Regions from separate parts of the Homo sapiens genome. Here regions 2 and 3 are each linked to region 1. Evidence: promoter capture Hi-C in human tissues and cell types (Jung and others, 2019). All regions are on one chromosome and are shown on one strand. The core of a region is centred on a gene start or on the middle of the fragment in contact, and the rest is flanking DNA. Distances in the headings are between cores, read along the strand shown.

Region 1 (2,700 bases), core at 32-2,531:
CACCACGGACGTAGACATCACAGGGTGTGTGCATATCTTTTATAATTTTCCTCTATATGACCTCTCTTAAAAAATCCCTTCTGACCTGCATCCATGTGACATTTCATACTTAAAACGCTGTCCTACTTTCCTTTCCCACTGAAAGGCAATATATTTAGGAACAGTCATAAAATGTATTCACGGAACAGCCTGCAGTGTGGTCGCTGAACGTGTGTGCACCGTGCCTGGACACACTCACAGGTGCAGCAGAGAGGGAGCCGGTTTGAATGAAACCTTTCATCTTCTCTCTCACCGACCAAGCATCTCCTTGCCAAATCCAGGAGCAATTCCGCGCAAACCTGGTTTTCAAAAGCAGCCTCTTTTGTGGGGCATTGCGGGGCTGTGCGTGCGCTCCCACTAGGAGGAAAAAATGCCATTTCCTCTCCGCAAGCTTTTAGCACTGCAGGTACTAATTTGAACATGAGGCAGCCTCGCTGTCCCTGAAGGAACTTGAGACCCTGCAAACGTACTTGCAACACCCACGCTGCAGCCACCACCACGCACGAATCGACCCCATCCACAAGCACACATCACTGGCCCGGGCACACGGAAAAGCACACACACAATAAGAGGCCGGGCCCGGCCACTCCTTCCTTGGTTCCCGCTCCGCAGCCAGTTCTGACAATGACAAGCACCTCTCCCAGCTCCTCCGCCCTGGCTCTCCATCTCCACTAACAACGCGAAAAGCCTGGGAGGGCCCGCTCGCCTGACTCCAGGTTTAAAGCCCCATGGCACCAAACAAAAGAGGCAGGTGCCAGCAGCCCCGGGGCCGCCCGCACGCAACGCCCCCGGGTCGGGCCAGGCTGGCCAGGGCAGGGCGGCCGCCTTTCGAGGAACTGCGGGCGGGGCGGCGGGGCCAAGCTGAGCGCCCGCCCTGCCCTCGGCGCCCCGCGGCTGCGGGCGGAGCGGGCTCTGCGGAGTCCCCCGGCCGCCCTCCCCGCAGCTCCCGTCCCCAGGGAAGGCAAACCACGCACCGGTCCGCGGAGAGACGCCGCCGGGGGTCTTTGTGGCCGCGCTGGGGGCCGCCTCCTGGTGCTGTCCTCGCCGGGCTGGGCGCGGCCGGGGCTGCGGGGCTGCAGGGCTGGGGGGCGGCGGCGGGGCCGGGCTGGGCGGCAGCAGCTGCTGGAGCGCGGCGCCTCGGTTGCGGCCACTAGTGCAGGGATGTGCCTCGGCCCGTCCTCATTGAAATGCGGCGCTTCGCACAGCCTCACTCCAGCCTCTCTCTCCAGAGGAGGGCGGCGGCGGCGGCGGCGGCGGGCGCGCTCCCTTTTCTTGTCTCACTCGCTCACACGCCCTCCCGTCTCCCTCCTCCTCCTCCTCCTCCGCGTGCGCGCCCCGTCGCCCCCGCCCTTCTTGGCAGGGCGCACCCACCACGGCTGCGCCCCAGGTCCTCCTCCCTCCCAGCGCCCTCTTCCCACCGCAGCAACCTCGGTGCATCTGGCTTGACTACACCCCTAAACCTCCCTAGTCCCCACAAGTAGTCTTTGGGAGATGGGGGCAGATCAGATGGTGGAAGAGAACGTGGACAGGGCTGAGTCTGAGCCAGGAAGTGTGCAAGGCACAGAGGTGATATGGCCGAGAGATGAGGCCCCCACCGTCGGGGGAGGGAAGGAGGTACCCACACTCATACCTTTTGATGTGACCTCACGGTCTGACACCTTTCCCAGGGTATGGAAGCCAGTGGATCACCTTCTCATCCTTTTTGCCCGGGATGCACCCACGCAGTGCCTCTTCGGATGACCAACCCTCCCAAGCTATGCACTCTGGTGCCCCCCACATTGGGAAGAGCTGGATCTGTTCATGGATCCCACCCATCATCTCCACTTAACCCCAAGACATGAGTCACTCTTGGAATAGTGACCTCTGCTTAGAGTCAAATATGTTCCAAAGGGCCCTTGAGAACTGAAGGGCCAGGTTTCACTGCTGGACACTTTGTGGCTGCCAAGGCTGGGTCTGCGGTGGAAAGCCCCATGAGCTCATGCGAGCCTCTCCTCCCAGAGGGGGAATGTTCTCCTAGCCCAGGCTGTTCACAGCTTCCTCCAGTCTTTGCACAAAAGTCCAGGGAGTGGGAGCAGCTCCCAGATTTCGGTGAAATCTTAGACTGGCTCAGTACGCAGCCTGAATTTTGATCCAGTTAATCTGACTTTCAATCCTGTCGTCCACAACCTGTGTTTGTCCCAAATACACATGAGTATACAAAATACACATAAGTATTTTTCTCTCTTCCTGAGCCTACACCTTTCAATGGAACATTAAAATTTTATTTTTCTCTTGCCCATTGATCCCAGTTATGTGTTTGACTACTTATTATTAAAAAGTTCTATTCTGAAATACTTTCCAAGTATGATGTAAATGTTAAATAATTACCATTTGTTTTAAAACACAGCTCAAATGAGATCCATGCTACATATTCCACAAGTGATGCGATATTTATTTTTGAACTATTTAATAGCCCAGAGATGAGAGTACAGTGAACTCACCAAATTAACTAAATGCAAAGTAGTAAGCCTATTCTTTCACATTCTGAGGCAAAATGAGAGCCATAGGGGTAAATTAAGAGAAAGGAAGAAGCCAAGTACATCTTCTGGAGAACAGAAATCAGAGCTTCTTTTTATCTTGCCAATGACAAATGCCAAGTGATTTCTTCCAAAATGCTAAGCC
Region 2 (2,700 bases), core at 1-2,500, 35 kb before region 1:
AAGAAAATTAAAGATGATCTAAAACAAGACTTGATTTATGTCACCGGATAAGTAAATATCATGGACATATAAATTCCACCACCCCTTCCCCCAAAATATGAGAGTCAAAGACTGAACACTGCTGAGAAACATAGTAGAAAAATTAAATGCTACCTCATCTGAGAAGCATAACTTTCTTGAGGATATGGCCATAGCAGTCATAAGATTCTCAAAGGGGAATGCAAGCCCCAAAATTTAAGAGCCATTGTTGTAGATAAAATAAGAAAAACTAAATTAAAGATAGAGGATTTTGTCTTAAATTCCTGGAATTAAAAGAATTTTTCCATTTCATTGATATTATTTTCTGTTGTCAGCTTTAGCTAAAGGAAATTACAATAAACCATATAATAAACAAACTAAATCACTATTTTATTTAATTTCAATTTAATAATAAGACCTATATAATAAAGCCCCCAAAAGAGAGGGTTAAAAACTATAAACAAGTTCCATTGGTTTTGAAAGGGTTTTTTGTATGTAATTTTCTTTAATGTAGCTAACCACCACCAAAACCCCTTTGGTTCTTTGGAGAGACAGATTACCAAGAAGGAGGTCAGAAAGGGAGAAAAATCTGGGAAGCAATCTCAGTTCCTCACTAACCTCAGAACTATGCCTAGATATAAGCCCAAGGCCTTTGAATCTCAGCCAGAGACCAGCTTTTCTTTCCCATCTTGTAAGAGGCTTCACAGGGGAGACCGGTCCTTGTTTTTGGTTTAGAGATGGCCTTGAACAAGAAAAAGAAGATAAGTATACACTGAATACACAATCTTTTCTGGAATCCAAAGGCCAGCAGCATCTTAACACTGAAGTACAAAGGCATTTTCAATGATGGTTCAGTGAACATAATCCCCCAGGTGCAGCTTTACTGTACGGCAGAATATTAAAATGCACAATTAAGTCTCTTTCCTTGAGAAGAAAGAAATAGGTAATCTTTTAAAAGTCCTCAAAGATCTTGAATAGCAAAGTGATGAAAGGACAAGTGGGAAACTCACCATGAAGAGGGAATGACAGAGATTATGAAATAATTGGATCTCATCCAAGGAACAGACAAAGCACATGGAAGCCATATTTTAACTATGAAATGCAAAAAGATATACACAGCTTGAAATATGTTAATATCATGTGAAACCTAATCAGCTTATAAATGGTATTTTGGACTGTAACAAAGCAAATGTCACCAAATGGGGCCCCAAGAAGGTAGGAGAGAAGAATAGACCCCAAGGAAGCATCCCTAGGGCTTAGAAGACAGTAATTATTCCATCCTGCCATGAACATGAAAGCTTTCTTCTCCTGGATACCTAAGTCTGGAGTGAGCTCAGAAATGCCGTATGTGCAAAGAGTGCAAAGATAATAAGTGGCTCACAGTGCTGAAACTGGCTACATAACCTCTGTAATAAGTTACTTATAAAACCTCAATAAAACCCAGAGCTAGTCAAACCGAGCTGGAGAGGATGGAGGCTACAGTTACAGGTTAAAGGCGATGAACTTAGTGAATCCATAATTACACAAATGACTTAGAAGGTAGAAAGGAGACTTTTCTATAAAAGCAGATAGAAAAATGAGGTCAACATTTAAAAGCTGATGTGACTAATAAGCAGATCAGTGGCTGCTGGGCTAGGGGTGGGAGCCCAGATTGACTGCAAATGCAGATGAAGGAACTTTCTTGGTCAAAGTGTCTAACACTGGAATGTGGTGATGGTTGCATGATTCTATGCATTTATTAAAATCATTAAATAATATACTTAAAATGGGTGCTTTTTGTAGTACGAAAATTATAGCTTAATAAAGCTGTAATCATTTTTTATTTTAAAGTTGACATGTTTTTAAATTTTGCGATATTCACACTCTATAAAATAGTTGTACTGTATATCTCTGTGATGTGTTAGTTACATTAAAAATGTTCTTTTTCCACTATTGGGAATATAAATTTTTATAATAATCTAAAGTAAGATTCTTAAGTTTTTAAAATTACTCTAAATGGATTATTTTCATAATCATTAACAATCCAAATAGGAATCAAAATAGCAAGAAACACTTAGAAGAAATTGAAAGAAGACATTTCAGTAGCTTTCTCAACATTTACTGTCTTTTGGCAACCCAGTCTAACCCTTTTAACAGGGTAGTATATTAATCTCAATGTGTTTAAAGACTGACAAATCACAGGAATTTGATAATTTCAGAAGAAAAGTATTTTTAAACTCCAGCAGGCACACCAATAAAGCTCAGCAATAAATTGTGAGCATTCTTACCAAAAAAAAAAAGATGCACATGAATTTTATATACTTAAAGTATTTGGAAAACACTATATAATGTCAGATATGACACTGTGGTTAAGAATGTCAGTCTGCCTTGACCAGGTACTAATCACTTGGGCCAGTTACTTTCCCCCTGATTCTGCATCTGTGAAAGGGAGATAACAATAGTATCTACTCCCATAATACTGTTAATGGGGTAAAAAATCGAAATTTTAGTTAGTGCCTGGCATACGGTAAACATTCAAGAAACACTAGCTGCTATTCTACATTTATTGATATTATCCCTGGGCTGGATTCAACATACAAGATGATTTTATTCTTTTCTACAAAGCCTCACCCCCAGGGACAGATCCGGTCCTTTACCTTCCTGGAATGCCAATTACTCAGCAATCTTCACGTAAACTGGAGA
Region 3 (2,700 bases), core at 95-2,594, 42 kb after region 1:
TTCCAAAACAATTTGGCAACATGCATTAAGAGCCTATACATACATTCACGTTCTCTGTTCTCTAAGTCACCCATCACACTCTTCCAGGAACCCATTATACTCTTCCAGGAATCCAGTCCAAGGAAAAGTCCAAAATACAGAAAACTTCATATATGGGAAAATATTTCCTATCATATGATGTAAAAAATCACTCTCTCCCCAAACTGCAAATGCTAAATGTAGCGACTGGAAAATGGCTAAGAAAATTACTCTACCCTTGATAAATGATTAAAACTATTAAAATGGTGATGAGTGATGCATAACAACAAATATACATATGTATGACACAAAGTTAAGTAAAAAAATTCAAGAAACAAAATGGGATATCCAATGATTACTACTATAGAAAAATATATCTGGAAGAAGACTTGAAGGAAATACATTAAAAAATGAACACGGTGATTATCTTATCCAGGTTAGTAAAGGATCGGCACTGGTTTTCAAACGCAAAAATGTATTTACATCAAATAAAAATGGCAGTTTTGACTCCTTAACCTTCAAGGCCTCCTAGGGTTTGAACCTACCACAGGTCTATTCCTAGCATATCTCTGGCTTCCCAAGATTGGTCTCCTTAGGGGAGGCAGTGTCTTGAAATGCTGGGGCATAGAAAGGCCTGAACTCGCTGCCACGAAAATAATGTTTCAGAGTTTCTGCAGGACATAAATAGTATTGTATGTACAAAAAAATAACATTGACAGGCATATGCCTGTGGCCTGATCTCTATCTGATTTAATCTAAGCTGATTTAATCATTCCATGTCACATTCAGCCACTGCTACTTATGGCAATTTTTTTTTCTTCTCCTCTCTTCTCTCCTCTAAGTTGGGAGAAAAGTCTAAACTGACTAAAATAACACCCTGAGGCTTCTTTGGTGATATGAAGAATCAGGGCTGGGTTCTATCTGGGGGTCCCTGCTCTTTTGACTTTAGACACTATGCTGCATAACCTTCATTTGTTCCCATGGCTTCCGCCACATCCCCATCTGTGCATGGTTCCTCTACTACAGCACTTACAAGACTGTCTGGGCCATAATTTCTTTTGTGACCCTTTCTACCACTAAGTTGTGAGCTCCATAAGAACAAGAACTGCCTTTTATTCATCTTTGTGTCCCCATCTTTGAGGCAGGGACATTTAAGCTGAGAACTAGGGATGGACTTGGTACTAACTAGCGCAGGTGAGGGAGGAAGGACATTCCTGGTACAAGGGAGGTGCTTGGTGAGAGCAGAGCCTGTTGGAGGAAGTCAGAAGTGTCATCTAGGACTGAGAGGCTGAGGAGAGAGGCAGTCCTGTCATCTAGCGTCTAACATTTAGGTCAAGAGGTCCATACCTTCCTGGTTTCTAGACGGAGAGTAACTTTATCTTCAGGAATACTAAAAGTCACAAACTGCTAGCTGTGTTCTTTTCCTCTATTTTTTTCCATCTTGTTATTTCAGGTACACGGGCATGTCTAGGCTTATACGGCACATATAACAAAAATGCCTCCCAGCGGGAAAGCATTTGTTCCACAATGAATATTCACATAATGAGATTTCTTGAGCCCCTCCTGTATGTTGGTCATTGTTCTAGGTACTAGAAATACAGCAATGAATAAAACCAGCCAAAAAATTCCCTGCCTTCATGGAGGTGACATTCTAATGGAAGATAGGCAACAAACAAAACACACAAGTAAAGAATAGCAGAAGGCAGTGAGTGCTATCAAGACAAATACAGCAGAGAAAGTGGCTGAGAAGATCTCTTTGAGAGGTGACATGCAAGCAAAGGCATGAAGGAGGTAAATAAATATGTTAAATGCTCAGGACACAGTCAGTCCTGAAATTATACGAATACTTCCCCTCCCCTGAGATTCTATTCATATTATAAACAAAGTCACCAGTGTGCTTATCATCTATCAACAGAATGAGCTTTCTGGTAATTACGGTCAATTTTGAGCCCAGTTTCTGGCATAACACTATTTAAACAACTGTAGCCACCTTGTGTACCTGAGGCTGACAATACCAGAAGGACTCATCAGCTCTCCTGGATTCCCTGGTTATGGTGGTGAATGCACAGGAGCCTGGGGGTTTGCAGGGCAGGGCAGGTCCCCCTCTAAGTGGCACAGATGCTAGGAGAAGCTCACCTCTCACAGCTTCATCCAAGGAGCTCTCTGCATCAGGAGTGGAGCACCCATTCCAGCACGTATTAGTCAGGAATTGGAGCCCTCTCTCAGGGGAGTAAGTGCTCATCACACTGTTTTCCCTTGAAAGGACAGAAAAAATTATTTGCACATTTTTCAAGGAAAACAATGTGGACACTGCTGAGTTCAATTGCCCTTTTATCATTCAAGTTCTAAAAACACTGATAAAGCCTCAACTATGGATTATTTACATATGAGCAAAGACACATGACCCACGATAATTCCTTAGGATGTGCAGGAATGATGTGCTTTTTCTCCAGTTTCTCTTTGTTTACATATTCTGATCAATCTAGAGAAGAAAGTAATCATTTGGGAAGTCACATTTTGCACTAATGACCTGCTTTAAGCACCACTAATTGAAATAGGGCTGGACAGCTCCAGGGCCCGAGACCTCTCCACAATGGAGGAACACCAGAAGCCATCACGTCCCTGCTGGACCACCACCATCCCTACACTCACAAGGGAGAAAGCCCCATTTTAAGAACCTCA

The links. The method cuts DNA at HindIII sites, captures the fragments that hold promoters and counts their contacts. A contact is called where the count stands out against the background at its distance.
Region 2: a fragment that was not itself captured here is called in contact with the fragment with the promoter of DCLK1 in region 1 in 3 of the 25 tissues and cell types used here (bladder, dorsolateral prefrontal cortex and liver).
Region 3: a contact is called between a fragment that was not itself captured here and the fragment with the promoter of DCLK1 in region 1, in 2 of the 25 tissues and cell types used here (bladder and psoas muscle).

What each region holds. Positions count from the first base shown.
Region 1 is chr13:36,130,101-36,132,800 of GRCh38, forward strand. DCLK1 (doublecortin like kinase 1) reads right to left here and starts at 1,282. Exons shown (of 17, transcript NM_001330071.2): 1 at 1,014-1,282. The HindIII fragment of the contact is 11,041 bases long and covers 1-2,700 here.
Region 2 is chr13:36,095,565-36,098,264 of GRCh38, forward strand. All of the region lies in intron 3 of DCLK1 (doublecortin like kinase 1), which reads right to left. Among named protein-coding and RNA genes, the nearest start is that of DCLK1, 34 kb to the right of the region's middle. The HindIII fragment of the contact is 3,803 bases long and covers 1-2,700 here.
Region 3 is chr13:36,171,538-36,174,237 of GRCh38, forward strand. It overlaps CCDC169-SOHLH2 (CCDC169-SOHLH2 readthrough), which reads right to left. Exons shown (of 16, transcript NM_001198910.2): 14 at 2,155-2,273. It overlaps SOHLH2 (spermatogenesis and oogenesis specific basic helix-loop-helix 2), which reads right to left. Exons shown (of 11, transcript NM_017826.3): 9 at 2,155-2,273. Among named protein-coding and RNA genes, the nearest start is that of DCLK1, 42 kb to the left of the region's middle. The HindIII fragment of the contact is 5,056 bases long and covers 1-2,700 here.